7 separate regions of the Homo sapiens genome follow, and regions 2, 3, 4, 5, 6 and 7 are each linked to region 1. The links are contacts of gene promoters, found by promoter capture Hi-C in blood cells and fetal thymus (Javierre and others, 2016). All regions are on one chromosome and are shown on one strand. Each heading gives the region's core, a stretch centred on a gene start or on the middle of the fragment in contact. The rest is flanking DNA. Distances are from core to core; before and after follow the strand shown.

The links. The method cuts DNA at HindIII sites, captures the fragments that hold promoters and counts their contacts. A CHiCAGO score of 5 or more calls a contact.
Region 2: a fragment that was not itself captured here is called in contact with the fragment with the promoter of IRF4 in region 1 in 11 of 17 cell types (activated CD4 T cells, total B cells, naive B cells and 8 more); the score reaches 14.1 in activated CD4 T cells.
Region 3: a contact is called between a fragment that was not itself captured here and the fragment with the promoter of IRF4 in region 1, in 1 of 17 cell types (activated CD4 T cells). The highest score is 8.7, in activated CD4 T cells.
Region 4: a contact is called between a fragment that was not itself captured here and the fragment with the promoter of IRF4 in region 1, in 10 of 17 cell types (total B cells, naive B cells, activated CD4 T cells and 7 more). The highest score is 20.1, in total B cells.
Region 5: a contact is called between a fragment that was not itself captured here and the fragment with the promoter of IRF4 in region 1, in 8 of 17 cell types (activated CD4 T cells, naive CD4 T cells, non-activated CD4 T cells and 5 more). The highest score is 30.7, in activated CD4 T cells.
Region 6: a contact is called between a fragment that was not itself captured here and the fragment with the promoter of IRF4 in region 1, in 6 of 17 cell types (total B cells, naive B cells, activated CD4 T cells and 3 more). The highest score is 12.6, in total B cells.
Region 7: a fragment that was not itself captured here is called in contact with the fragment with the promoter of IRF4 in region 1 in 5 of 17 cell types (activated CD4 T cells, naive CD4 T cells, non-activated CD4 T cells and 2 more); the score reaches 16.1 in activated CD4 T cells.

Annotation. Positions count from the first base shown.
Region 1 is chr6:389,799-394,126 of GRCh38, reverse strand. IRF4 (interferon regulatory factor 4) reads right to left here and starts at 2,375. Exons shown (of 9, transcript NM_002460.4): 1 at 2,318-2,375; 2 at 759-1,029. The coding sequence starts at 974. RefSeq lists enhancers at 1-8, 49-158 and silencers at 1,219-1,328, 1,439-1,488, 1,659-1,708, 1,989-2,058, 2,299-2,688 and 3 more. The HindIII fragment of the contact is 5,232 bases long and covers 1-2,991 here.
Region 2 is chr6:166,422-170,749 of GRCh38, reverse strand. It overlaps the pseudogene ANKRD18FP. Among named protein-coding and RNA genes, the nearest start is that of LIRIL2R, 12 kb to the left of the region's middle. The HindIII fragment of the contact is 1,969 bases long and covers 1,489-3,457 here.
Region 3 is chr6:575,671-579,998 of GRCh38, reverse strand. EXOC2 (exocyst complex component 2) reads left to right here. Exons shown (of 28, transcript NM_018303.6): 12 at 3,117-3,242. Among named protein-coding and RNA genes, the nearest start is that of HUS1B, 79 kb to the left of the region's middle. The HindIII fragment of the contact is 4,106 bases long and covers 311-4,328 here.
Region 4 is chr6:219,852-224,179 of GRCh38, reverse strand. No RefSeq gene overlaps it. Among named protein-coding and RNA genes, the nearest start is that of LINC03066, 17 kb to the right of the region's middle. RefSeq lists an enhancer at 3,301-3,380. The HindIII fragment of the contact is 6,117 bases long and covers 1-4,328 here.
Region 5 is chr6:555,389-559,716 of GRCh38, reverse strand. It overlaps EXOC2 (exocyst complex component 2), which reads left to right. Exons shown (of 28, transcript NM_018303.6): 18 at 3,153-3,233; 19 at 3,704-3,763. Among named protein-coding and RNA genes, the nearest start is that of HUS1B, 100 kb to the left of the region's middle. RefSeq lists a silencer at 2,255-2,442. The HindIII fragment of the contact is 4,828 bases long and covers 46-4,328 here.
Region 6 is chr6:238,368-242,695 of GRCh38, reverse strand. No RefSeq gene overlaps it. Among named protein-coding and RNA genes, the nearest start is that of LINC03066, 35 kb to the right of the region's middle. The HindIII fragment of the contact is 801 bases long and covers 1,798-2,598 here.
Region 7 is chr6:537,995-542,322 of GRCh38, reverse strand. All of the region lies in intron 22 of EXOC2 (exocyst complex component 2), which reads left to right. Among named protein-coding and RNA genes, the nearest start is that of HUS1B, 120 kb to the left of the region's middle. The HindIII fragment of the contact is 5,087 bases long and covers 1-4,308 here.

The sequences.
Region 1 (4,328 bases), core at 1,126-3,625:
GAGGAAGTCCCCTTCCCCTGCTCTGCCCACAGGTGGGGGCTGGGCCCAGACACGTAGTTCTCTGGGTAAACTGCCTTAGGGGAGAACAATCGTAACAACGACACACGTGTGTGCACTCGCGCAAAGGGCAAGGGAGACAGCTCTAGACAGAGGCCCTGAGTTCCACTGCGATGGGGGAAAGAGAGAGACAGAGACACACAAAGAGAAAGACAGAGGTGGGAGTACCCGCAGAGAGCTAGCAGGAGCGAGAAGAGAGGCTGACCTCAGGAAAAACATGGAGAGAGAGAGACTCAGAGAGAAAAGCAGCGAAAAGAGAAACAGAGACGCGGTGAGAGACGAAAACAGCCGCCGGCACAGGCGCGGACGCACGGAGAGGGCGAGGGGGACCCACGGACGGAGGCGGCAGACGGGAGCCCGGAGGAAGGGCGGGAGGCTTGCGTGGAAACGAGAACGCACGGACGAACGCGCAAAACCCCTCAAGCCTTTGGCCGCCCTTCCCCGGGCCCGGCCGGGCCTTCAGCGGTTTCCCTGCAGCCTCCACGCGCCCAGGACCCGGCTCCCGGCCCCCGCGGTCCCGCTGAGAGCCGAGGCCTCCTTTCCTCCTCCTGCGGCTCCGGCGACGCCACCTGATGCCTCCGCCGCCCGCCCGTCCGCCCCGCGCGGTCCCCTGGGCTCGCCTCGGAGGCGGCGCCGGGGACCCCGGGCTCTGTCTCTGGGCCCTCCCCGGCGCGCCCCCGCCGGCTCCCGAGGCCGGAGACCTTGAAGAGCGCGGCGTCCTCCTCGCGGTTGTAGTCCTGCTTGCCCGCGTGCTTCCAGGGGATGCGGAAGATGCTCTTCTCCTCGTTCTCCCACACCAGCCCGGGGTACTTGCCGCTGTCGATCTGGTCGATCAGCCACTGGCGGAGCTTCCCGTTGCCGCAGCTCACCGCGCTCATGCCGAACTCTCCGCCTCGGCCGCCGCCCTCCAGGTTCATGCCCCGCGTGCCGTCCGCGCCCGCGCCCGGGGTCCTCCGCCCGCTCTGCTCTGCACTGCGGGGAGAAGAGCTGCCCTTCAGCCACGAGGCACCGCACTCCGGGCACCCCGCCCCGATCCCCTGCGCCAGTGACCACGAGGCCCCGGAGTCTTTGAGGCTGCGAAGCGCGCGCGTGCCGTGTCAGGGTCGTCCGGGCCCCCGGAAGAAGGCACCTTCGCGGCCGGCCCGGGCGCATCCCCTGGGCGGGCACAGCCGTCCGCCTTCCGAGCTCGGCCCCCGCGAAGGCTCCTACCCGCCTGCTCTCCTGTAACGCACCCGCAGCCCAAAGGCTCCCGACACGCGCCGCTCGTCTTGCACCCTCTCTCCCCACCCAGCCGCCACCCCTCCTGGCCCTCCTTCCGCACTCACTCGCAGCTCTCGCTTGCCTTCGCTCACTCCCAACCCGCTTCTCGCCCCTTCCCCGCGACTCTGTCAGTTTCCACTCCCCTGGCGGCCTCCACGCGCGGAGGACCTCGCCTGCGGCCGGGCGTTCCAGGGGCGCAGCCCCGGGTTCCTCCACCCTCCGCTTTCTCTGCTCGCATCCAGACCCTTCGCCCCGAATAGGACCCCTATCCCTGCCCAGCTAGCGCGCACTAAGTGGGCTCTGCAAACGACAAGTGGCGCAGACGCGGGGGCTGCAGCCCCAGTACGGGGGATTCCGCGCGCAGAGCGTCCGCCGGACCCCGGAGCAGGCCCGGGAGAGCGGAGGCGGGGAGGGCGCGGGAGAGGGCGACGACAGCTGCGGAGCCTGGGAGGCAGGGACCGCGCCAGGCCGGCTAGGCCACCGCACGCAAGGCTCGGAGCGACCCAAATGTGGAGCTCCTCCTCCTCCTGCGCCAGCGGGTGAGCACCGCGCCGGAGGCCGCCGTGAGCTTGGGCCCCTTAGGAACGAAGAGCAGGGGAAGGAGCCTCGGATTGGGGTCCACAGGGCCGGGCCTGTTTCTCGCAGGCAGTTGTGCCGTCTTGTGTGGGTGCCTTGGACGGCCCCGCCTCAGCCACTCCTGGGGCCCCGACAGTCCGGTTAGCTCATCCCGTCCAGCTTGTGGCGACCCCGTCGCAGGAGCGCGGAGGGCAGGCGGGGAGGCTCGGGCAGAGCCAAGGAGGCGGGCCTTGGAGCCCAAACCAGCGCCTCCGGCTCAGCGCAGATGGGGTGGGAGTCGGAGCTCCAGGACGGGGCGCGCTCCCTTCCCGCTCCGAAGCCGGGGTACCCTGCGCTGCCCTGGAGGTCGAACCTCTGGTTCGCGCTCCGGGTCCTCTCTGGTATCAGCCTCACACCCCTCCTCCTGCCCGACTCCAGCCCTTACCTCGCCCTGGACTCGGAGCTGAGGGCAGCGGTGGGTCCCAAGATCGAGCGGTGAAACTGAGAGTGCGAGGTGGGAAAGAGGAACTTTATAGAACTCTCTGGGGCGGGGCCTGGGGCGGGGCGGGGCGCCGAGGCCTGTGGGGGCCGGGGGTTGGACTGGGGAGAGGGACTTTGCAAGCCGAGAGCCGGGGCCGGCCGGGCGGGCGAGCCTCAGGGCCGGCGTGAAGGCTGGGGGCTGCCGCGGCCGGGGTGGGGTTCCCGCGCCCTTGGCGACCCTCCGCGCGCCGCGCCCGGAGAGCGCACCTCCAGCCGGGCGCGCGCCGCTTCGGGGACTGTCACTGGGGCCGTTTCCCGCGAAGGGCGAGGTGCGAAATGCGAATCTCGCCTTTGCGCCAGGACCTCAGGAGGCCAGTCAATCACTAAACTGCAGCGATGTGGCCAGGGCGGGAAATGGGGGGCGTGTAGTAGCGGGAATCTGGTGCGAAGGGGACTTCGCTTTGCAGAGCGTGTAACGGAAGACGGAGGAATGGTCCAAAGAGAACTGGAGGTGGAGGTTGCGGGAGCACCCTCGGCAAGGCCATCACCGGGAACCCTGCCTCTCCGCGGTGTTTAGAGAACATCGCACTCACTAAAAAGAAAATAGGAAATGGCCCAGCTCCCTTGAGCTATTAAGCTTGATTCAAATACTGTCTCTGCGTGTCTGACATGCTTACATCCTTTTGCATCTATTAGGCTGGTGAATTGAAGTGACTCAGACAATGCCCCGGCCCCGAAGTTTTAATTATCTTAGCATGAAAGAGATGGGGGCGGGGAGAGGCTCCCTAAGGATCCAAGTGCTTAATCACTTCCAGACTTCAGTTCACCTTAAAATGATGTCGTTTTAACCTCAACCTGGAGGAAAGCAGTTTACCAGTGGGGTATAAAAGCCCAAAATAGGCCAGGCGCTGTGGCTCAAGCCTGTAATCCCAGCACTTTGGGAGGCCGAGGCGGTGGATCGCCTGAGGTCAGGAGTTCGAGACCAGCCTGGCCAACACGGTGAAACCCCATCTCTACTAAAAATACAAAAATTAGCCGGGCGTGGCCCCAGCTACTTGAGAGGACGAGCCACGAGAATCGCTTGAACCCGGGAGGCTGAAGTTGCAGTGAGCCGAGGTGGGCGACAGAGCAAGACTCCATCTCAAAATAAATAAATAAAAGCCCAAAATAGGAATAATACTTAAGTGGACCAGGGATTTTACATACTTTTCCAAGATGTCCTTAATCGCAAAATTAACCCCCTGAGCTTTCACCCGTTGAGCTTTCGATCGTCTGAGATGCTGAGTATGTGCATTTACTTCGCATTTTCAGGTAAACCATCAGATCTCTGGTTTCTATATGATTTTAGACCACCACCACCGTAGGTCAACCTGCAACTTTTGAAAAGCTTTTGATTTCACTTATTTCTCAGTTTTTGTTTTAATCTTATATATTGGGTCAATGTCTCCTAACCAAAGAAGAATCTATGTTTAGGCTAGAGCAAAACAGGTAGTGAGGTATGGATAGGTATGCTTTTCCTAAAACCAACAGACGTTCTCAGAAATTAACAGGATGCCATTTTTTATTTCACCCAAGTAAGTTTTCCATTACCAAAGTCTATGTAATAAACAACAGGGTTTTGTTCACAAAAAGTTCTGGTCACAACCTGTTTTTCTTCCTTTCCTTTCACAGATTTATTCACTTGACAAATGTATTTTGAGCACCTGCTACTTGTCAGGAACCGTCCTAGGCACTTGGAACACATCAGTGAACAAAGCAAAGATCGTTGCCTTCTTGTTGCATTATATTTTAATCAGTGTTACCTTTCCCTCAAACGTTCACAAACATACCAGAGAGGAGTTTGCTGAGGACAAAAAATGGCAAATGAGAGCTTTTTGCACTTTCGTATACGTGTCCTCTGCACCGGGTTTAGTCATTTTCAACATACCCTCCCCTCACTCATCCACATCCTCTGCTTTTAGTTCAGAACAACAGTC
Region 2 (4,328 bases), core at 1,224-3,723, 220 kb after region 1:
ACCGCATTATAGATAACATTTTATTGCAAGTAAATGTATTTCAAAATTTGTTACTGGTTTTATAATAAAATAGTGTCAGCCTACTTCATTATCAAGCTGTACTATTTTATTTATGCAGTTTGATGAACTTACAGCAGAGCTGGAAACTATATCTTCAAAAATGTCTATATTTGGCTAAAAAGAATCAAGTTATTCAACAGGAGTTATTATCTATGAAAGAAGTACAACAGAAATGTAAAAAACTTGAGGAGGTTAACAAAATTTTGGAACAAGAAGTAGTGAATCTTAAGACACATGAAAAAAATATGGTAGAATTTGGTGACGTAGAAGAATGTAAATTGCAGTTGGAAGAAAGAGCAGGACAGGAAATAGAAAAATTAGAAGAAATCAATTTACAGGTTAGTTTTTTTAATCAGGTAGGTTTATCTGTAATGTGCTTTCATTTATTTCACTGCAAATTATAATATAGACATACAGTGTTTTGTCTGCCTCTCTTATAGGAATTTGCTTTGTAGAGTTTTAGAAAAAAAGGTGGCACCTGTTTCTTATTTTAAATATTTAAATTTCCATCATGATTATAACTAAGTTGATCTTTCAGAGTAGTGAGTTTCACTATACAGTCATTTGGTTATTAAAACCAGTTAGCATAAGACTATTAGAAAAAGAAAACTCTGATTTAAAATTATATGGTACTTTTGAATTGGTCTTACGCTACATTGTTCAGTTTTTAACATTTCCAATGGATTCTATTATTTTTAAATGATTAGATTACATGAACACTAACAAGAATGATTTCAAATTTTTATAATTCATATTTAATTCTGAATTCTGTTATCAATTTAGATGAAATTGCTAATAGATGTTTTAAACTTCAGCCCCTTTTTAAAACACATATTTAAAATTGCTTTCTGAATCACTGACTCAAAATGAAAGGCAACAAATAGAGACTAATTAGGTTATAATTGTTTTAAAAGTATGATTTTTTATTTGTTTTAGAAACAAGCAGAATATGAAAAACACAGCAGTTAAAAGAGAATAATATGGCTTTGATGAATAAAAGAGAACTCTGACTGAAAGACGTGGAATGTCAATTCTCCAAAATGAAAACCGCTTATGAAGAGCTTACTACGGAATTAGAAGAATATAAGGAAGTCTTTGCAATAACATTAAAAGCTAACAAATCCATGTCAAAAAATTTAAAGAAATAAGTCAAAACATACACTTGTAGAAAATCAATCAAGTTCATTAATTTGCCATGAAAGCATAATTTTTAGTGAGACAACTTCATGAGATTAGTAGGAAGTGAAAGCTATCCTGATAGTATAATTTTTGAAAATAATGCTAGTAAATAAACTTACATTTAAAATGTTAGTCAAGGACAGTTTCTGTCTCTTCCCTCATTTTTTTTTTAACTTTTGTATGGCCTTTTCCCCTGAAAAATCTTACGTAGTTAACCTAGTCTATTAGTCTTTTAGCATTTTTGAAGCTTTATGGTCAATAAAGTGATCTTGCTGTAAAATTACTTTTCAGAATTCTTCTAAATGGAAATATTAATGAATTTAATTTGTTTTTTAGTAGGTCACAATCTAAACTCAAAGTGCCCAAACTACTACTATTCTGGGCACGTCCTGGCATTTAGTAACTTAACTTTCCTGATTGTGATTTTTAGTATTATCACTAGAGGGCGCTTTGAGACAAACTTTTCTGTATAGTTTTTTCAGTCTACAGGAAGACATGCTTGTGAAATAGGGAATGATTATCCTAGGGATGAAAGAAAGTGTAATTTACAAAGTTGTTTAAAAATAACACCTTGGTCAGCCTGAAGGGGTGTGTGGAAGACAGAAAGGGCAAGCCCCACCTCCAGTGCCTTGGTCACAATGCTAAGGGCTGATTGCCTTCAGAGATGCTTTAGTTCTTTTTGATCACCAATCCAACCATCTAGTTCTCTCCTAGGAGTTCTTGCTCTGAATTATTTCTCAGTGTGAAATGCTTATTTTTTCCTAGATAATGGGTGAAATGTACAAGGGTGGTGAAAACAAATGTTTGAAAATATATTTAGGAGTGATTTCTAAAATCCTGAAACTGGTTTCTAAATACAAGTATTTCTAGCTTCTGTTTTTGTTTGTTTTTGTTTTTGTTTTAGTTTTCTTAATTGTATATTATTTAAGGCATACAACACGTTACTATATGTTTATTCATAGTGAAGTTGTTCTTATAGTCAAGCAAATTAACATATCATCTCACATAGTTACCTTTAAATACAAGTATTTCTTTTTTTTTTTTTAATTTTCCCGAGATGGAGTCTTGCTTTGTTGCCCAGGCTGGCGTGCAGTGGCGCAATCTCAGCTCACTGCAACCTCCGCCTCCCAGGTTCAAGCAATTCTTCTGCCTCAGCCTCCCAAGTAGCTAGGATTACAGGCGCCCACCACTGCACCTGGCTAATTTTTGTATTTTTAGTAGAGGCAGGTTCTCACCATGTTGGCCAGGCTGGTCTCGAACTCCTGACCCGGTGATCTGCCCGCCTCAGCCTCCCAAAGTGCTGGGATTACAGATATGAGCCACTGTGCCCAGCCTGAATACAAGTATTTCTAATGGCATCCTCAGAATCTTATAAGTACAGCCTTCTAGAAGGTAGCAAGCATTACCTATTGAGCCGTACATCGATAGCCATTTCTCTCTCCTTCCTACTTTGTTTGAATTACTTATTCACTAGAAATCTTCTTAGAAACATATGTGATTTTTTAAGAACGATTTTAAAATTATACTTGCTTATAACAGGTATGCTCTCACACATTTGGTGTTAAAACAGTTTAGTGGGTAATTTTGTTTGCTGTCAGGGCAATTTTTTAAAAATTGCAAATCATTTAGGAATCATTTAAGGAAAAATAAAATACTAGGCATTTGTTTTTTGCTATCTGTACAGATCAAATGAGATAATAGCAATGGTCAGCAGCAAGCTCCATATAGAGAAAGAGCAAATGAAATCTGTTCCCACCACTCTGCCTATGAGGCCAGACCCAGAGCCACCCTGGGTTGGAAATCTTAATAGTATAGGTCACAACAGAAAATATATTCCAAAACACCCATAAGGATCCCTACTTCAAGCCCATAGACTTCGAATAACAGCATGAACTGCTTGACTGAGGTTAGTTATATTACCTTTTCCCTTTTGGGTTTTGTTTTTCTAATATACTTCTTGTTTTTAATTTGGTGAAATACTGAGTCGTTCAATTGACTTATGCTTGTTAAGTGAAGGTCATAATTAGCTAATGCAGAAAGCAAATGGGAACTTTACGGTTTTTATAAGTCCTGGGAGCTCTCATTTTCAAGAGATACTTATTTGTTAACTTGATTCAATAAATGTAACTAAACTGACACATTTTAAATTGATTGAAAAACTGCATTTAAGTTAGGTTTTAGAAATTGCATGTTATTGCCTAATAACTAAAGGTAAGCTTTTTTTTTTTTTTTTGAGACAGAGTCTCACTCTGTCGCCCAGGCTGGAGTGTGGTGATGCAACCTCGGCTCACAGTGGTGCGATCTCGGCTCACTGCAACCTCTGCCTGCTGCATTCAAGCAATTCTCCTGCGTCAGCCTCCCAAGTAGCTGAGACTACAGGTGTGTGCCACCATGCTCGGCTAATTTTTTGTATTTTTAGTAGAGACGAAGTTTCACCATGCTGGTCAGGCTGGTCGCGAACTCCTGACCTCGTGATCCCCCTGCTTCAGCCTCCCAAAGTGCTGGGATTACAGGAATGAGCCACCGCGCTCAGCCACTTTGGCTTACTTTCTGATTGATTGTAGTTTTGGCTGCGGTTCATACCACTTTTAAAGTTTCTTTGCACTATCTCAAGTTTTCCATCCCTAATCACAGGGAAGCGGTGGGCATCCAAGCACTTAACCACATACGGATGTTTATTATTTAATGGAATCCAAAATAAACATCAAACACTAAAATATTTCTTTCCATTTTTATGTTAAAAGCTTTGTGGTTTTCTTTCTTTTTTTTTTTTTTTTTTGAGATGGAGTCTCCCTCTGTTGCCCAGGCTGGAGTGCAGTGAAGTGATCTTGGCTCACTGCAAGCTCCGCCTCCTGGGTTCACGCTATTCTCCTGCTGCAGCCTCCGGAGTAGCTGGGACTACAGGTGCCTGCCACCATGCCCGGCTAACTTTTTTGTATTTTTAGTAGAGACGGGGTTTCACCGTGTTAGCCAGTATGGTCTCAACCTCCTGACCTCGTGATCCTCCTGTCTTGGCCTCCCAAAGTGCTGGGATTACAGGTGTGAGCCACCTCGCCCGGCCCAAGCTTTGTGGTTTTCTTACATAAGAA
Region 3 (4,328 bases), core at 1,114-3,613, 190 kb before region 1:
TTTTAAATGAGATATTGCTGTCATATTGTAAGATGAAACAAAATAGACTGATATGTGAAATATTTAAAGACTTTTGCTGATTTTATATTTTATGGAAACTGTTTTTTTCTTTTTTTTATAGAAATGCTTACTCATGAAACCAGTTCATATTTGTAATAATTTTGTGAGTCAGAAATAGTAAGTTATGTAATTTAAAAGGAGTGTCAGAATTATCAAGTTGTTTGTTTTTTTTTTGACACTTGGTCATACATAATTTGTGACAACTGGTATTTAAAAAGTTTGTGTTGCTTTTCTCTTCAAAACATAAGCTTTCTAATTCTCTATAAAATAACTCATTCTGAGATTATTTTTTGACAGTAAGAAAAGTACGAGTGTTAGGGAGAGAAATACATTTCTAAGCTAGTACCCACTGTTTAGTTGACAGGGCACATTATGCATTTGTGTGCAGCTGTGAAGCGCTACCTTCTGGACACTCAGCAAAAATACATCTTCCGAATGTATTCCAGATGCTGATAGTCCGGAGGGGCATGTGCTCTTCTAGCTCCCTGCTGCTGTGTTATACTTCTGGTAATGCCAGGGTACCAATTGGAAAATTTGTTCACGGTTACCTTTGTTTTCCTGATATAGAAAACTGATGATGTGGTTTCTAATAGAACAAAAGCATAGTAATACAGTTTCTGTTATTAAAGGAAAAAAAATCAATCTTTTAACCATTACAAAACTCAGGATGTACTTAAACTATACAAATGGTTTAATATTAAACAATTTAAAGTTATAAAAATACCAGTTATAAGGAGAAAACTTTTTCTGAAATAATTGTATTTTTGCAGGAATGGTATATGCGTATTTTCAGGAAACTAGGAAGTGTTTTCCTTCTTAATCATAAATTCATAGTCCTAAAAACCTTCAAGAGTAAGTGAAATGTAACAGTTTAAAGCATTCTTTTTTATACTTTAAAAATGTACATTTTAATATAAATTAGAAGTTTTTATATGTATTTTTAATGTGACGCTAAGTTTGGGCCCCTTTATTTTTCTCTTTAAAGTATGTTAGAAAATTCATATTTTGATATTCATTTCCTGAATTCCACAATTGATAGAAGTGACAACTGTATAAACTTCAAAGGAAAATGTCATAAATCACTAGAACATCCACACAAACATTTTTATATGAAAAAAAGTCAATTAGAAAAAAATACTTTCTTCACTGTATTTTTTTTCTCTGTCACATTTTTTTGGTAACACAGTGGATTTTATAAGTCTTCTTATCTTAGCTTTAATATTTTCAAAAATACAAATGTATGCACAGCATTTATTTAGCACAGTGGCCAAAACATAGTAAGTCTTCAAAAAAACTTCTGTTGCACTAAAAAATCTGTTCAAATGATTTATTTTCTATTTATCTAAGACCTACCAGCTAGAATTTGTGGGGATCTGGAGAGAGAGATGATAGTGTGTCACGTCCAGGGGCACACGGTAGGAGGGCCTCAGTCAGATCAAGCCTTTTCTTACCACACAATCACTATTTACCTCCTCTGCTTAGCGTTTTTTTGCTATAGTTTTGTTGTTTATTTATCTATTGGTTTATTTTCTGCCTCCACCACCAGAATGTAAACATCTTGAGAGCAGGGCCTTAGATATTATTCATCACTTTATCCCCCGGGCCTGCAATTCCTCACATGCGGGAGGGAGCTCAATAAATACCTGTTAAATGTTATTGAATAGTTTGCATTATCAGAGACACCAAAATGTTACTTTAATTTGGAAATATGTTTTATATTAGCACCTGAAAACAACTCCATAGGCTTTTAATATTCTATTAAGTTATAAAGTAAAAAATATATTTTTTAGTGTCAGTCACTTACTACATGTGGTGGGAGTTATTTGTGGAAGGTCCAATGACTGTGGGGAACATGGAGATATATTTACTTCTTATCCCTGAGAAAACAGCAGTCTTTGGTGGAGATAGGCAATACCTAGCTGTTAATGAACTACAGACTCTAGAATGTGAAGTCGATTAAATTATATACATAAATTATATACATTCTCACTGCTGTCAGAGGGCAGAAAAGATAGGTAGCACTTTAGGTAGATAAGAGGAAGAGGTGACCTTGTGTAATAGCTGTATTTCAAGTGGCATCTTTCAGGATGTGGGTTTAAATGGATGAAGAAGAAAAACTGAGTGAGGCCTTTCCAGTAGAGAGGATAGCAAATAAGGCAGCAAAATGTAAGGTGTATTTTTGTAGGGAGAATATTCAAGTGTCCTATGCACAGTACTGTAAATACTCTGTAAATGCACTTTGAATTCAGTTTATTTTGAAGCTCTTTGAATACTCAGCTAAAGAGTGGTGTTTTAGACTAACAAGGTAAATTTTACCTCTTCAAGCCAATGTCCTTACTAACATGCTTGGCAACATGGAATTCTATTCCTAAAGGCTTTTGTGATCCATTTTAGAAAAATTGTTTCCTAATTCTCAGCATAATTTGGATTGGAAAACATCGGGGTAGACTTTATCCTGCCGGTTTTCTGGAAGACTTCTCAGATGAGAATCAAAAAAGCAGTATTTGAGTGTGAGACAATAAAGACAATTTCTTGATGGTAGTAGAATGTTCTGGCTTCTGGCATATGAAGTGTGAGGTGAAAAGGATCCACACTAGATGACTGGCATCAAGAAACGCCATAGGGAGTGAAATCCCATGTGTCCAAGAAACAAATGGTGGGATTTGGGGATTTAAGTGTAAAGTGTGGCATTAAGGGAGAAGTCAGAGGAGATTTATGCTACAAAAATGTGTAAGTCAGCTACATTTAAAGAAACAGAAGATTCTGAACTCCATTATCTTTCCTAGTGCCAAAAGTTGTTTTGCAAAATGTGATTTTTCCTGCTACTTTTTGTGTTTATAGCATTATCCTCCCACCACCACCCAATTTTGCTGAACTGAGAATGACTTTTAAAATCTGTTTAGAGAAAATACTTTTTATTTTATTTAATAAATGCCTTATTTAAGAGTGGAGCAATTGAGCAAGAAATAGCCTCAGAGAAGCAGACCATTAAATCAACTAAGCAAGAGTATATAGAGCATGCTATATACTCTGTATATCTCTCCTTTCTTCCCCAGGTAACCCAGGCCTGCACAGTCCCATGTTGGATCTTGATAATGATACACGTCCCTCAGTGTTGGGCCATCTCAGTCAGACAGCGTCCCTGAAGAGGGGCAGCAGCTTTCAGTCTGGTCGAGACGACAGTAAGTATCTCCCTCCACTGCCACTGGGTCTTTTAAATTTGTACTCGTGTAATTTCAAACATTCTTCTCTTGGAAAATTCCCCAATTTGTGTTGATACTGGTGCTAAGTATTATCAGCCATCATCGCTTTTGCTTGTTACAGTAACTACCAGTAATTTAATAATTAAAATATATATTACATTTAAAGGAATGCTATTTGATTTTTAAGTCATTGGGTGCAGGTCAGTGCTTATTAAACATATTTAGTTCAAGTCTAGTTTTACTTTTTCTGTGGTTGAATTTTTTTAAAGTGCCACAGAAAAAAATTCTGTGAGAACTTCATTAAGATGGAATTTGCGATAAAAGTAGTATCAGTATACCTTTTTTGATGAAATTTAAACTTTGGTCTGGAAAGAGGGATTGGCTGTTAATTAACCATAAAATACTTGCTAATAATTTTTCCTAAGATGAAGCATCTAAAATTTTAAGTATGTTGCATTTCTGAACTTTCTGGAGTGGATATTTACCATTTTCCTATTTGAGATACAACATGATCGACTATCAGGCATTCTTGCACCAAATTAGATGCCACTAGTCAGGAGCCATTTGTGATCTCAATAACAGATATAAGAAACCCAAATAGACTAATAGAAATACCTTACATTGTATTAAATTCAGATACCTGTACAGTTGTTTTAAAATGTCTTATATTATTCTTAACAAGCATTGCAGTAGGGAATTTTTCGAAGGTTTTATTAATATAAATGAATGTTCATCATAAGAGCACCTTAAAATTAGATGATTCATTTGTACTAAATGAAAGGCTTCCATAACTGTTGGTATTCCTTCTTCTTGTCCGATTCTCATTCCTCTCCCAGCTCACCAAACATTAGAACAAACAATGTTAGATCAGAACCGTTTGCTCCTACATTCTGTGGGACAGCAGCTAACATTATATAATGTTCAATGTAATTGCACAGAGGAGCTGAGATCTTTTGAAACATTATTCTTGGGAAAGATACCATGTAAGAATCCATTTGCTGCCATATTAAGCTGTGTTAGTCTGTTTGTGTTGCTATAAAGGAACACTGAGGCTGGGTAGTTTAT
Region 4 (4,328 bases), core at 1,325-3,824, 170 kb after region 1:
GCCACCTCAACGTCTTAGCACAATTATATATATATACACACACACATATATATACTTTATATGTAGAGAGAGAGAGTGTGGCCTACGTGTGCAGTGTTTATAAAGTCTGCAGTAGTCATAGTGATGTCCTAGGTCTTCACATTCACTCCCGACTCACCCACTGACTCACAAGAGCAGCTGCCAGTCCTGCAAGCTCCACTCATGGTAAGTGCCTTGCACAGGTACTGTTGTTCATCTTTCGTATTGTTCTTTCACGGCACCTTTTCTCTGTTTAGATACACACACGCCACTGTGTCATAATTGCCGACAGCACTCAGCGCAGTGACATGCAGGTCTCAGCCTGGCACGACAGGCTGTCTCATATCGCCAGGTGTAAAGCAGCTCATAGCACGCGGGTGTGTGGAAGTTCACTCTGCGATGCTCACACAACAGCAAATTGCCTGAGGACCCATTTCTCAGAAGGTATCCTTGTCCTTAAGCAACACATGACTGACATTTGTAAAAGGGGCAAGAGACAGCTTGTGCTTCTCAGAAAAGGTGCCCATTTTCAACTGGTTTAGGAAATTTAGAAAGAGGGAGGAGGAGTATTAAAGTGGCTAAGAGTGTTTCTTTCCAGTTGGTTGATTCTGCACCTCACACACCTAAGGAGTCTGGGAAACATCCTGGGTAGCAGTGGTGGAGAGTGGTCGTAATTTACATTGAAATGGGGATCACCACTGCATATACAGATGGCCTTGCTAGGTGCTGAGGAAGCTCTGATGCCCCCGCGAGGATCAAACATGAGTCGTGGAGACAGGACATGGTGACATGTAGGAGAACACAGTTGAATGCCAGGTAAGCCCCACGTGGGCCTCATGGGTTCAGAGGCTTTTTTCAGAATTACTTCCAGTAGAACGGTTGCCCGTCACAGGGAGCATATCCAAGAGGGCGTGTGTGTGAAGCTGGAAAAGTGGCTTGTACTGGGAATGGGGTGTCTCATATCTCTATAGAGAGACCGCAGGGAGCTGAGGACTGAAGGAGAGGTTAGAGCAGCTCAGGCTCAAGCCCTCTTCCCCAGAATCACCAGGAACTTGCCAGGGAGGCTTTTGTTGCTGTTGTTGCAAAATCCAATTGCAATTACAACAATAAGTGAGGAATTAAACTACAAGTATGAATAGCATGGGCAGCTTAATTCTTAATAAGAAAGCCTAAGGTGCTTTCAACTAAACCACTTTCTGAAGTTTTTTTTTTACCAAAAATAAATTATATCCCAAAATTTATAAGAAAAGGTACAAGATAAAAAAGTGCCCCCTTTTAGAGCTAAAGTTGTCAAGCTGCAGATATTTGATTGATTTGTCCGTGAGAGGGTGGGAGGGAAGAAGCCTCCTTATGTGAAGCCGTCTCAGAATTTCTACTCCCAGACCCACATGCGGATGTGGAAAGCCAAACATGTGATTTCAGGCAAATACATTAAAGAGTAAGAGATAGAAAAGTATGTAATTGGATGTATCATTATGATATTTTCCACTGTCAGCAAAAGGAAAAAGATATTGATTGTTCACACGCGCAAAGAGAATCTCACAAACACACTCTTCCTGCAGCCAATGTCCATTTAATCATTGTGATAATGCAGCTACCTAGATTTTTACTCTCCACAGATCCATTAGGTTTAAAAGCTCTTAAAACTTTGATTCTCTACTGAAAAATGGAATGCTTTCTTTCTGGCCATTATAAAATATACTTTGCAGTAGTTTGTGCTGATTCCAACCGTCCATCTTTACAGTTGTTAAATCAGGTTTAGACTAAGCTGCCTCCTTACATATTTTAAGTTTAGCCTGAAGGTTTTTCGGTATATCATGAACTATAACAAGCGGAGGTGTAAATGAACTGTATACTGCTCTTGCGCCAATCACTCAGTTTGGGCCAATAAAACGCAGCCAACTGTTTGAATCATGTTCAAATAACGCAAACGATGTTCAAATACCACAAACGCCGAGCTGTACCCCATCCAGCTGTTTCTGCACCTCACTTCCATTTTCTATACGTCACTTTCCTTTTTCTATCCATAAATCTTCCTCCATGTGGCTGCGCTGGAGTCTCTGAGCCTACTCTGGCTCAGAAGGCTGGCTGATTCATGAATCGTTCATTGATCAATTAAAGTCCCTTTCATTTAATTTGGCTGAAGTTTTTCTTTTATCTCACTTGCATTTTTTTCTTTTGAGACAAAGAAAAACAATTATTAACAAGCCAGAATAGAAGTTTCGCATTGTCAAAGTGCATGTGCAGTCCATTCATTTTTTCTTGTTATTGTTAGTCATCTTATAAATACAGAACCACAAACTTCACTTCCTTTCGTAGAATATACCTCTTTCGGCTCTGGGAATTACAAACCCTTTACAATTTTACCAGTTTCGGAAAAAAACCAATAGGTTTCTTATCAGAAACTGTGTTCTCTCCCCAGATGCCACTCTTTGCATTTAAATAACTGAAATTGAGGACTTTGATACCACAAACATCAAAGCTCTCTGTTGACTGCAGGGTCCACTCTCAAATGCACCTTAATCCCATTTGAGCACCCCAATTCTTAAAGGCAGGGTATTGTGGTTTCTGAATTCACCATGGCTGTCTTTTTATGGAAGTTCACAGACAGGAGTAATCTTTGAATAGCAGTAATCTAGAGGTGGCGACATATGACTTCTTCATGTCTTTGGCAACTTTGTTTAATTTTTTTAAAGTTGCTAGTCTCTTTTTCTTAATGAACGGTCCTTGTTTCATGTTCGTGGCCATTTTCATGGTCAGCCGTCTGGGCAAGCTGCTTTTTCTCTTCTTGTGGTATCACTCCTCCTCTCCTTACTGCTCAGCTGTAGTTTCACACAACGAGCTAAGTGGAGCTCGTGGGGTCACTTACAGGAAACAAGGAGCATGACTCGCACCCATGAAGTTAGAAATGGCACACGGGGAGGGGAGATAGAGCAGATCCGTGCACAGCACTCATGTGTAAAATATGCCTGCACCACTGTCTGCTTTGCGTTTGAGTTCAAAACAAAAGGCTTCCGTGAAATATAATAAGCTATATATATTTTTCAGAGTGACAAGAATTGTCTCGCTTCCCTTCAGTTCCCAGACTTCTCCAAAGTTAGTCTAATGTCATGACATTGCCTGGGGAGGCCAGAGGCTGGCCTCAGAGACGAGAAAGCAGGTAGCTTGGCTTGGGCTTGTTTCTTAAGGGTCTAGGTGCCTACAGCGTAGAAATTCAGCATTTGCAGAGCACCGAGGTGAGGGGCTGGGGGACGGCAGAGCCTAGGACTTGCAATAATGCAAACTCAAGACTGCTGATTCAAGTCAAGCAGGCTAGAGAAGGGGAAGGCTGAATTTCTTCAGCAACTGGAACTGAGCTACGTGCATTCAGTTTCTCTCAACACATTCTGCTCTGAATCAAACTGTATTTTAAACTTCAACACATTCTGCTCTGAATCAAACTATATTTAAAACTATTTTAAACTATATATTAAAGCCGTTTTAAACTATATTTTAAAACTTACGTTAAAGTTCCTGGGTGTGATTATAATATTGTGGTTTTGTAGGAGAATGTCCTTGTTGTTAGGAAACATCCAGAAATTTTTAAATATGGCCTGTGCAACTTACTTTCAAGTGGTTTCTAAAACAAAGAGAGAGGGGCAGAGAGAGTGCAAATACGGCCAATGTTAATAATTCATCAATCTACAGTGAAGGTCAAACAGCGGTTCTTTGTACTATTCTTTTATCTTTTTTGTGAGTTTGAAATATTTAAAAAAATTGGGGAAAATACTTAGGAATAACTGTAACAAAAATACAGGACCTATATGAATCAATGTACAATATAATATTTAAGGATATAAAATGCAACCCAAATTCATGAAAAGATTATATATGATTAGAGAAGTGCAGATATGTGAGATAATTTTTTCTGGTGTTCATATTTTTAAAATCTCACACACTTTTATATATTAGGACATTAAATTGTAGCAAAGAAAATACAGACCATTTACTCATTCATTCTGCCTCTCTCCGTTTGCTCAATGAACGCTGACTCATCACTCGGGCTCACACAGCGGCTCAGCCCCTGGCCCCGGCTCCAGTTCCCCATTCTGTGTGGGCAGGACAGAAGCGGGAAGCGGGAAGCGAGCGGGGGTGCAGGCGGGGGGACATGAATCGGAACAACCGTGGCTGTCAAAGATGCCGGTGCATCCATCTCACTACTCCAGGCTAAGAAGGGACAGACTCAGAAGCTGGGGAGAGGGTTGTGAGGGCCGTGACTCTGGAGATAACCATATCTGCAGGGCTGCTCGGGGTCCACACAGGAGCTCCTC
Region 5 (4,328 bases), core at 1,210-3,709, 170 kb before region 1:
TATCAGCCTCTGTGAAAATGCTCTGAAATAGTTACTTCAGAAGCTTCTTTGTAGTTTATTTTTAAACTTTAAGTAGTGCAACTGCAACCATAAAATAACTGATTTCATGTTTGATCTCTCACACAAGCCACATAACTATCTGCAGGGACGAAAGAACTGACCCCCAGTGCACCTTGCGAATGAATGAGCCCTAGGAAATAGCACGTCTGGAGTCAGCCAAGACATTGTCTAGCCAGAGGTCCTTGAAGAAGTGTCCTACCACGATAGACCTGATAACACTGAGTCAGTTTTTTAGCTATTCCGCGTGGACCTCTTAAGAGAAAACGTGAATCAATGTTTAGAAAATCCCATTTTTCTAAACATTAGATATCCCTTAATGGGATAATCCCATTGCTTATCCCATTGAGGACATCAAGGTCAAGCACTGCCTCACTATGACTGTCCCTCGGCTGAGGCATTCTCTCTGATTAGAGCTTTGCTTCAGAGCTCAGAAACAGCTCACTCGAAAGCATCCTGTTTTCTTCTCATGCTGAAAATGGTTTCTGCCTCTTTTCAATTTGGATAATTCTGAGATTCTGAGAATTTTCTTCTTTCAGAAGAACTGGAATGATTTGTGATAACTTTTGACAGTCATCTAAATTGGATGACTCACTGACAATACACAGAGACAGAACTATTTCTTTTGAGAAAAAAGAAATAGTGAATGTGTAGACTATCACCTACTCCCGGTTCAACTGAAAGCACTCATTGAACTTTCTAGTATTCTGTTTCTACTTATTATATTAGTGTGGGTATAAAAATAAAATTAATAAGAAAGTTGAGTCCAAATTTTAATAGAAGAAATCTAAACAACCACACATGAACATCAACATTTACTTATTTTTTTTTTAATTTTTAATTTTTTTGAGCCGGAGTCTCGCCTGTCACCCAGGCTGGAGTGCAGTGGCATGATCTCGGCTTACTGCAACATCTGCCTCCCTGGTTCAAGTGATTCTCCTGCCTCAGCCTCCTGAGTACCTAGGACTACAGGCACGCACCACCACACCCAGCTAATTTTTTGTATTTTTAGTAGAGATGGGGTTTCATCATGTTGGCCAGGCTGGTCTCGAACTTCTGACCTCAAGCAATCCACCCGCCTCAGCCTCCCAAAGTGCCGGGATTACGAGCGTGAGCCATCGCACCTGGCCAAACATCAACATTTAATGGCCCACGGTTGAATTTCAGATTCGATTGTCAATATTATAGTAATAATTATCATTGTAACATCTTAAATTTTCATACCTTCTGAGGTGGGTAGGTTAGATGAGTAAGGTCAGTAACCTAACAAACATTTTGCCTCTTTAAATGCTTTCTGTGCAGTTGGTATTTCATCCTCTATTTCTTATTTTATTACTGTTTTTGTACTTTCACTTTTAAGTATTCTTTATAATGCCCTCTGGTGGTTTCAAAGTGCAGAAATAACATGACATTAAAGCTGAGGCACTGTTTTAGCTTTCATTAAGTCTGGGTTCCTTTCCATAAGAAAATAAACTTGTCTTTTTAAAAGATGTATATAGATGTCACTTCCTTTCTTCTCTTCAGTTTTTTTCCCAAACTCTTTTAAAAATTAATGCATGTGTTGAAGAGAGGTTCTCAGTCCCAGTGTTTTGCACACAACTGCTTGGTTGAGCCTTGAGCCTTCCATGTCTCGCTGCTCCGGATGAAGCCCGGCCGCCTACCCCATCTCTCAAGACCTGTGCTCATGTTTGGTGGTTCTGACACGCTGCTCTTGTCTCGCTGCTCCGGATGAAGCCTGGCCTCCTACCCCATCTCTCAAGACTTGTGCTCATGTTTGTTGGTTGTGACACGCTGCTCTTCCTGTGCTCCTGCTTTCCCAGTGGTTTCTTGCCCACTCTGCGGGGTGGGTACACTGTCGTCCTCTGAGAACTTGCTCCTCTCCTTCCCTGTTCCTTCAAAGGGCTGGTCCCTCTTCCCCTTCCCGTCTCAGCATCAATGTTCTCACAGTCTTGGGGGCCTTCTATGACCATCCTATTTACAGCCGATCCCCCATCATGATTGTTCTCTCAGTTCTTCTTCTTTTCTTTTTTTTTTTTTTTTTTGAGATGAAGTCTCTCTCTGTCACCCAGGCTGGAGTGCAGTGGCGCAATCTTGGCTCACTGCAACCTCCGCCTCCTAGGTTCAAGCGATTCTCCTGTCTCAGCCTCCCGAGTAGCTGGGACTACAGGCGCGTGCCACCACGCCTGGCTAATTTTTGTATTTTTAGTAGAGATGGGTTTTCACCATGTTGGCCAGGACGGTCTCAATCTCTTGACCTCGTGATCCGCCCACCGCAGCCTCCCAAAATGCTGGGATTACAGGCGTGAGCCACTGCGCCCGGCCAAATTCTACTTCTTTTATTCATGACACTTACTATTTTAATTATTTTATTTCTATACTTTTTTAAACCATTTTGTCAACTTTGACTTTCATGATCGTGTCTTCTGCCTGAAATATACACATAATGAGAATTCTGTCTTACTTATTCCTGTATCTTCCTTAACCTAGAGTAGTTCCTGGCACAAAGTGAAAACTTAAACACCCTTAGGAGCTAAGATTCATTCTAGCTTGTCTTGAAATGCCATTGGTTGGGCATATTTTCAGGTTTCATTTTCTGACTTAATGTAGATAGAAAATGACTGTTTACAATCTATCTGATATAAAGATCCTGTACATCCTCTAGGTCATTATTATTATCATTAAATTTTGTTTAACAGTTCCAGAGATGTGGAAGATCTAGGAGACTCAGCTCATCCCAGAATATCCTTCAGAATTAGCATTCAAAATATAAACTCATTATATCTGCTCCTCGTTGTATATTGGCCTCTTAGAAGAGTAGAATTTTGAAGAAAATTTTTAGTCATATCTGAGTTTTATTGTAGTTGAATTAGATATACTTTGGAGTCTCAAGATTGATTCATTCTAAAATACGAAGTACAAAACATATGCCAAACCTCTGAAACTCAATGACTAGGAGATGACTTTTCAGATCGTGTGTCTGTTCCATTCCATTAATCTGGAAAATGTGGGGCTTGGGGCCATATTCGCTTGTGTTAAACATGTCTTCACAGCCAGTGCTCATTTTTGAGTTTTACAATATGCTGTTTTCCCTTCAGCCATGTCAGTTTGAACAGTGCATCGTGTGTTCTCTGCAGTCACTGAAGGGGGTTCTGGAGTGCAAGCCGGGAGAGGCCAGTGTAAGTATTCCAGCTCCGCTTGGACTCCAGTTTCCCAGGGAGCCTTGGGAATCATAGTTGTAAATTTTTGACTCATCGTACTGCAAGATCTTTTCTCCCTCTTCGCCTGCTTGTTCCATTTAGTTTAACTGCGTAGATGTGCTGATTTCCGATTCCAAGCCAGGCCGATGCAAGTTAAAGTGTGAGTGCAGGTGTTGTAGGTGGAGTGGTTACAGTGATAGCACTTTGTGGACAGCTATTGATGGGCCTGGCTCTTGACCATCAGCCCAGGACTGCGTTGTCTTCTCCAGCCCAAGTCACTACAGTAAGGAACACCTCCCAGTAGGCCCACTCTTCGCACGCCTCCTTTTATAGGAAGGGCACCACTCCTGCAGCAGCGTTCCACGTTTTAACTGTTCATATCTAACTTCATATACAAAAACCTTTTCTTAGCAAAGTCCAAAAATTTTCATCAAAATTCTTCCTTACAGGTCTTCCAACAACCTAAAACACAGGAGGAGGTTTGCCAGCTAAGCATCAATATAATGCAGGTAATAATAGAAAGCAGTAATGCTGAAAGCCTCAAATAATACTAAGTGTCAGTCAACCCCTCTCCTATTTATAATCTGCAGATGACGTTCACCAAATAGGTATTCTTTTTTCATCTTGTCTGTGTACATAATAGTTTAAGGTAAGTGGGTAACAAAGTTTAATGTAAGATTAATTCCAACTTGTTTTAGCAATACCCAAATGTTTCATTTATGTTATGCTCCCCTTTTTTGTGTTCTCTTGGTACTTTCTATGTATTCTGTTCGAGCACAACGTAAATTAAATGATATTTAGTTGTTCACATTATATCTAGGGTATAAAGTATTGTTATTGGGACCAGTGCTTTGCAGGCACATAAAGTTGAGAATGTGGGTGAATGAATAAGAGAAAGTCTTTTTCCGGAATATATCTTTACAAACTTAATAATTGATCAAAACATAGGCACTTCTAATTGTCTATTACTTATGTGATAGATATGGCTGGGATATATATTTCTGTCATTAATGGGGCATATACAGTATATACACATATTCATACATGCACACAACACCACACCACTAATGAGAT
Region 6 (4,328 bases), core at 949-3,448, 150 kb after region 1:
ATTGATTTGTTTATGTTGAATCATCTTTGCATCCCTGGGGTAAACCCCACATGATCATGATGAATGGTCCTTTCAATGTGTTGTTGAATTCAGTTTGCTGATACTTTGTTGAGGGTTTTTGCATCAATGCTTATCAGGGATATTGGCCTGCAGTTTTCTTTTTTTGATGTCTTTGTCTGGTTTTGTTATCAGGGTAATATTGGCCTCATAGAATGATTTTGGAAGTATTCCCTCCTCCTCTGTTTTTCAAAATAGTTTGAGTAGGATTGGTATTACTTTTTCTTTAAATGTTTGGTAAAATTCAACATCCCTCAAAACTTTACTAATCCCCTACTGTTGACTGGAAGTGTTACCAACAACATAAACAGTTGATTAAAAAATATTTTTATGTTATATGTATTATGTACTGTATTCTTAGCAAAAAGTAAGCTGGAGAAAAGAAAACGTTACTAAGAAAATCATAAGGAAGAGAAAAAATACATTTACTATTCATGAAGTGGAAGTGGATCATCATGAAGGTCTTCATCCTCATCATCTTCACATTGTCTAAGGAGGAGGAGGAAAAGGTGGGGTTGCTCTTGCTGTCTCAGGAGTAGCAGAGGCAGAAGAGGTAGACGAGGTGGAAGAGAAGGCAAGAGAGTCAGGCACAGTCAGCGTAACTTTCACTGAAAAAAATTCATGTATAAGTGGAACTGCATAGTTCAAATCCATGTTGTTCAAGGGTCAACTGTAGATATATAGATTTATAGGCATCACTCACATTTTCTTTCACGTTTCAAAATCCTTCACAATTTTTCATGACAAGTGAGTAAAGCAGGTCCCAGATACTATAGGATGCATCAGTCTTGGTCGTTTTACTATTAATTGAAACATATATTCCTCCTCCATTGCTCAGGGATGAGATAGCACTTTCCTTTAGAGCATTTTTTAAAAGATGCCCAAGGTGGATTATTCTAGCTGGGCGGTAGCTTGAGTGTGTGCAACAGTGGGGGCACTGTGAGGCTATTTGGAGGGAGTGGCGGTCACCAGAGAGAAGTTTCAGTGCAGCTGTGCACATGTCGACCAGAGCAGAGGGAGTGCTGTGCAGAGAGAGAAAAGTTAGCTGAGAAGGAGGAAAACTGATCTTGCTAATGACTGTGCCCTTAACCCGTGGCTTGTCTCCAATTTCAGAAGCAACAAATCCAAGAGTTTGTGCAGACAAGAAATGCTGCAGACTAGTCTCCCATGAAAAGGTGGGAGGTGAGGGAGGGATGAGAGGATGCTCTCTTTTATATATGTGATCTCTGCCCATCCTCACAGTAGCCCTGGGCAATCCTTATTCTAGAGAGAAGGAAACAGAGGTTCTGGGAACTCAGGATGCCACGAAGAGGCAGGATGTGCCCGCAGCTCATCTGGTTCTGATGCAAGCCGACTTTGCCCTCTGGCACAGGAAGCACAGGGTGCCTGGGACCCAGGCTGCATTCGGAAGCCTCAGAAATGCTTAATCTTGGCCGGGTGCAGTGGCTCAAGCCTGTAAATCTCAGCACTTTGAGAGGCCAAGGCGGGCGGATCACCTGAGGTCGGGAGTTAGAGACCAGCCTGACCAACATGGAGAAACCCCGACTCTATTAAAAATACAAAATTAGCCGGGCGCGGTGGTACACGCTTGTAATCCCAGCTACTCAGGAGGCTGAGGCAGGAGAATCGCTTGAACCTGGGAGGCAGAGGTTGCAGTGAGCTGAGATCGCACCACTGCACTCCAGCCTGGGCAACAAGAGCGAAACTCCGTCCCAAAAAAGAAAAAAAAAAAAAAAAGCTTAATCTTTATTCCTTTTAAAATCAGAAGAAAAATATACATAATAATCATGAATATATAATAATGAATCCCATCTCAATTACATCTGTCATTTTATCAGCGCAGCAGTAAAATACTTTTAAATATTTTTTATAGAGGAAGTTGCCCACAGGAGCGATGGTACCTCGGCTGCATCTCAGAGGTTCCGCCTGCCTATTCTGGAGCGCATGCCCTGGACCTGGTACCAGCCCCAGGTTTCCAGGAGTGGGAAACTGCTCGTCTACTCTACTCAGGTCATATTGATTTTCCTTGATTCCCTGCTCTGGAAAACACAGCTCCTGGAACTTGGTCCAAGAATAGGAATAGTTGGTCTGTCTTTAATGTTACTATTTTTTAACTCCTAGTCAAGTGCCACAGGGAAACAAGAAAAATGGGGCTATGGGATTGACTAAGGGAGTTTAACAAATGGCCTTTAAAATGACAAAGTGAGCTGGGCTCTGGAATGACAACAGTGGTAAGTTGGGAAGGCATCCCGCTGAGGCTCCTTGGCTCCCCAGCACCTGCCTGCTCCCTGGCTCAGTCTGCCTCACTCTCTGCTCTGGGCAAGGGTACCAGCCGAGCACCTCAAGAGCCTAGACCACGTGGAGGCTACATAGAGGTCCCAGGGAGAGGACATTATGTCACTCTTCTGAGATGTGAGCTCAAGAGGATGTTGGAGGCCAGAAGTTCTTGACTGGAGAGGAGGAGACTTAGATTCCTGCCTTGGCTCCCACACTAACTAGTTGTTTAATCCTTCAGTCCAGGCCAATTCATTTCTCTAAGCTTCCGTTTTCTCATCATAAAATGAGAGAGTGGATCATTCCAGCTCTAAGGTTATATGATTCTCAGGAGAAAAATGTGAAAGACAGCAACAGGTTAAAAAATATTTAAATGAGTTCGACGTTTGCCCCAATTTACCAATTGCCAACCACGTCTTCTCCCAAGGATGGCCCTATCAATCAACCCAATTCCAAAAACTGTCATGAGATTTTCCATGAAACTCTGTGTAACTGGGAGAGAATAAAGCACGTGCTAAACACGAATGCAGTGAAAATGGCGTGAGGCCAGGGAGGAACTGGGAAAGTCCAGTGGAATTCCCTGAGGATATGGGCAGGTGCCCGCCAGCGTTGCTGGAAGGGCTGTTTCTGAGGATAGAGGGTTAGTGAGCTGTAGCAGTTTCCAAGGCCAGGAGAGGGAGATTTTATTCAGCAGAAATAAAAGTGCTGGGAGGTGTACAATGACTTTCTTAACTTCATGGAAAGTACCATGGGAGTTCTATGACAGAAGCCAGGCTGTGGCCCTCGTCAAGGGTGGACTCAGAAGGAGGGAAACGATCGATGGCATTGTCAACAGCGTTCATTCTGAAGGCCCTTCATTTAAATTCTGGTAGCCATCAGCTCCTGACACCCAGTGATAACAATACCCTGCACTGGCCCATTGTCTGATTTTGATCTTTCAACAATCCCGAGGCAACTCTGAGATCTTGTAATTTTTGTCCCTCTGGAAGATGAGGGCCCACGTCCCACAGTGGTCAAAGATACACCTATAACCTCGTTCTCCAGCACTAGACCAGCAAGCCGAGTGAGGCGGTTACTTCTCTTCGTAGTTCCACAGTAAGGAGCTATTTCAACTTCATCTAATGAACTGCAGTCTTAGGGATGGACAAAAACCAGCCCTAGAATGACTAACAGGGCTGTGCCTCTGGTGCGTCTTCACTGCCACTCACAGTGGTAACTGCAGCGTATGGACAAGCATCTGCCTCTGACTGAGGAGACATTTATTCATAAAATAAGAGTGTGCCTTTGTGTCTTTTCTTTTCTTTTTTTTTGAGACAGAGTCTAACTCTGTCTCCCAGTGACACGATCTCAGCTCACTGCAACCTCCGCCTCCTGGGTTCAAGCAATTCTCCTGCCTCAGCCTCCCAAGTAGCCGGGACTATAGGTGCACACCACTACGCCAGGCTAATTTTTTTGTATTTTTAGTAGAGATGGGGTTTCACCATGTTGGCCAGGCTGGTCTTGAACTCCCAATCTCAAATGATCCGCCTGCCTCGGCTTCCCCAAGTGCTGGGTATCTTTCCATTTAATAAGTTCTAATGTTTGATAACAGAGCAGTGTGGCTATAGTTAACACAATGTATTATGTATTTCAGAATAGCTACAAGAGAGGACTTGATGTGTACCCAACACGTGGAAATGATCAATATCTTGACTAGATCATCACACATTCTGTGCATGTACCCCACAAATATGTACTAATATAGCGTATCCAAAAAAATTAAAGTCAGCATATTGAAATATCATAAATAAACCAAAGTGAAACTAACTCCCCAAGTTAAATAAATGGATTCTCTTTTGTGTCTCAATTTCTTCAACATCAAACCTTTTTTCATTTTAGTGAAGTATATTCTTCCAGAAATTAATATTGATTAACGTTAATATGTTAATATAATGTATATAGTAAGAACTCCCTCTCCCCTTACTAAGAAACTTCCCAACTACAATTTTCTCTTCAAG
Region 7 (4,328 bases), core at 516-3,015, 150 kb before region 1:
TCTTTTCTAGATGTACATTCTTTTTAAATGTTTTTATGTTAAATATTTTATCCATATAATAGAATAGATATCGCATAATGTAGGATGTAAGAGAGTGATAAAATGAACCCAGGTGCTCCCACACCACCAAGCTGAAGGAACAAAGCATCCCAGAGGCCTTATGTCCACTTGTGCCCCTGCACAGCCATGCCACCCACCTTCTCCTATAGAGAACTACTTCTGAATTGTGTGGTTTCTAAACAATATTTTGTTTGAAATTACCTTTTTTGACTTTTACATTAGCATAAATAAGATTATATGGTGTGTGTTTTTCTGTGACTTTGTTTTCCCACTCAGTATTATTTTGAGATGTATCCATGTTGTAGCATGTAGGTCATGCTCGTTTGTAACATGAATTAAAGAATATATTCCTTTTTCTTCTTTGAAAGAGTTTGCATAAGATTGGAATTATTTATTCTTTGAATATTTAGAAAAACGCTCTGGTAGTGGTATTTTCCGTATGCCCAGATTTTCTTTGTGAGATGATTGCTAATGACTGGCCCAATTTCTTTAATGGTTATAGAACCATCCAGCTTTTTATTTCTTCATGTTAATCGTAGTCATCTATATTTTTCTAGGACTTTGCCCATTTTGCTTAAATTTTCAAATCTGTTGGCGTAAAATTGTTTTATAACAGTTTTATTACTTCAACCTCAGCTGCGATGTGGTCCTTATTTGTACTTACTATCGCTTGTTTGTATTTTTATTCCTTCAACCTCAGCTGCGATATGGTCATTTTTTGTACTTACTATCGCTTGTTTGTATTTTTATTCTTTGTTTCTTGCCAGAGTCTTTTTCAGAGAATAACTTTTGACTTTAGTAGTGCTCTCTCGTTATATCCTTGCTTTCTCTTGCAGTAATTTGGACTCTAATCTTGTTTATTTACATAGTTCATTAATTCTAAACCTTTCTGTCTTTTAATATGAACATTTAAGGCTGTGAATTTCCCTCTAAGTGTCTTTTTAGCTGTGTTTCCCATGTTTTCGCAAGTGGTATTTTAGTTATTCTTCATTTTTTTTAGTTTTGAATTTTAATATTCTATTTTAGTCTTGGCTAGAAGTATGATTTTAAATTTCCAAGCTAAGGGAGCAGAGGAGCAGTTGGAATTAGTTTTCTCTTTGTTAGAGATTTCTAACATCATTGTTCTGAGGTCAGAGAATATCATGTTTTTAGGTTTGCTGAGGCTTGCTTTGTAAGCTCATATGTGGACAGTTTTCTGAAACCCTACCTCGGTTGAAAAGATCGTGTCCTTACGTTTTGGATACCACATTCCACAGATGTCTATTACATCGGGTTTGTGGATTATGTTGTTCAGTCCTTTTGTTTGTTTGGTTTGGACTTTGATCTCTTGATTACTGAGAAAAATGTAGTAAGGTTTTTCCTTGGCTCCTTTTTAGATACTTTATTTGCCTCTTCTGTTCTGTATTTTTATTATGTGTCTTGGTATTATTATGTTTTTTGGCCTGTTTGTTCCCTTGGCTCTGGTTGATGTCTTTAATCAATTCTGGAAAGTTCTAAGCCATTATCTCTTCAAATATTTTTTCTTCTCCATTCAAACTTTTCTGTCCTTTAAGATCTCCTATTGGGTGTATGTTAGACCTTCTCACTCTATTCTTCACATCTCTTAATTTTTTTCTTTTTTATTCTCCTCATCTTTAATTGTCTGTACTGATTGGGGTAATCTCCTCAGCTCTCTCTTTTTGTTCCTTGTTTCTTCAGTTGTGTCTAATCTTGCTGAAATTTACTGTGTATTGAAATGTTATTTCAGTTGTGTTTCTTCTCCAGAAACTTTGTTTTTTGTTACTAAGTAAGGGGAAATTATTAACTTACTCTGGAATGGTATAATTCAGAAATCAGGGAAGGAGATAGTGGTAGCAGTAAAGTTCTTTCCAGTGTCTTTCCGATTATTCTGTATAGATAGAAAATCAAATCGTCAAGGATAAGATTATCCTATTGAGAACAGTGGAGCAAACAATTGAAGCCTAATATATAGGATGTGAGGTGACTAACTTGATTATTAAAAATTCCTGGCTGGGTGTGGTGGCTCCTGCCTGTAATCCCTGCACTCTGGGAGGCTGAGGTGGGTGGATCACCTAAGGTGAGGAGTTCAAGACGAGCCTGGCCAACATGGTGAAACCCCATCTCTACTAAAAATAAAAAAATTAGCTGGGCATGGTGTGCGCATGTGTGGCTTGGAAGCCCTCGCTAACAAGTCCTGGAGACACAGGCTGTCCTTCTGTTTCAGGTGACAGTATATCCTGTTTCATCTGTAGTTTTCTTTTTTGTGTTAATACTTCTCCTAGGAATTAAGAGGTTTTTTAAAATTAGTTATTTACTTGGCATTTATTTTGCCCCCATTTGACAAGTTGTGGTTCAGTAATATAAAGGAATGTCAGTTTGCCACCTGTCCTGCCATCCATTTGAAAAGAGCTAAAAAAAATTAATTTGTCTGAACCTAGTTATCCAGAGTCACTTGGATAGATGTTCTAATGATAGTTTGATGACCTTATTTCTATACAGATGGCCAAATTGGAATGAAAATAATTGTTTGTTGTTTATTTTCTTTCTTGGAAGCATAATTTTTAAAAAACATTATTATCAAAAAGTTTTTAAAATCACAAATTGGAAATTTTAAATTGGAAACATTAAAATACATCAAAATAATGATGTTATCTTTTAAACCATTGTGACTGTGTTGAAGACAACAGTAAAGAAGTTAGAGAAATTTGACAATCGACTTAGGCATCTCTTCTCCAGGACTGTCCATTGGGAGCACTGGCTGGCATCAGTGCCTGGTGCGTGAGATGGAAATGTTGTTGAGTGTACGTGATTGCTGCTAAGAAAGGCAGGGCGGTGGCTTATTGGGAGCACTGGCTGGCATCAGTGCCGGTGCGTGAGATGGAAATGTTGTTGAGTATATACATGATTGCTGCTAAGGTGGCAGGGCGCTGGCTTATTGGGAGTATTGTCCATTACACCAGAATTCTGCCTCCAGCATACGCCTTTTACTTCTGTAAGTTATTACCCACAGTTTTTTAATGCTTCGAAAGACCCTCCTCAGTGCTAATATGTACGAATTCAGTGAGTAAGTCTATTTCTGAATACAGATATTCCTGAACTTATGATGGGGCTACCTCCAGATAAACCCTTCCAAAATTGAAAATATCGTAAGCGCATTTTCTACTTATGATATTTTCTTTTTTTTTTTTTTCTTCAGACAGAGTCTTGCTCTGTCACCCAGGCTGTAGTGCAGTGGTGTGATCTTGGCTCACTGCAACCTCCGCCTCCCGGGTTCAAGCAATTCCTGCCTCAACCTCCCTAGTAGCTGGGATTACAGGCACCTGTCACCACAGCCGGCTAATTTTCGTATTTTTAGTAGAGACAGGGTTTCACCATCTTGGCCAGGCTGGTCTTGAACTCCTGACCCCGTGATCCACCCGCCTCAGCCTCCCAGCGTGCTAGGATTATAGGCGTGAGCCACTGTGCCCGGCCAGATATTTTCTACTTACAGTGGGTTTAACCTGACGTAGCACATCATAAGCCAGGGAACATACTGAATGCGCATTGCTTTTACACCCTGGTAAAGTGGGAAAATCATGAGTTGAACTCTCATAAGTTGGGACTGTCTGTACACAATTAAATTGTTATCTTTTTTAAAGGAGGCACTGTGTTTTTGTTAGAGACACCTGCCCTAAAAGGCCACTGGACCCTCAGGCATGTCTACTCTGCTGCCTTTCTCACCCCCATCAGTGACCCTTTAGCGCTCCGTCTCTGTTTAACCACTGCATTCCTTAAACACATCACTTTATAAGACTGATTTCCTTAGTGTCAGGATGTTTTTAAAGTTAATCTTTCTTCCTCACTCTCAGATAGCGATTAATGGTAGATGGATCTGACCCTTGCTTTTTGAGCAGGAATCAAGCAGACCCAGTTTTCTATGTTCAGCAGCCAGTGTGAACAGGGTGTTAGTGAAAATGAGGCTGTTGAGTTAATAGAAATAGCTGCTAGCATTTATTATGTATTTGCTTTCAGTGTGCTATGCAAGTTTCCTGAATTATCTGTTTAAATCCTTACAACAAAAAGTATGAGCTGTGTACTCCTGACATTGATCCTGCCTCATCACACATTAATACTGCCATTCTACTCTCTTTTTGTAGCATTTGCCTATTAACTGTTTGCACATCTATTTATTTTCAACTCCTCTTTTCCCTTCTTTTTTTAAAAAATGAGGTGTAATTTACCTACAGTAAAAGACACAAATCTTAAGCTTATGGATTGATGGCTTTTTA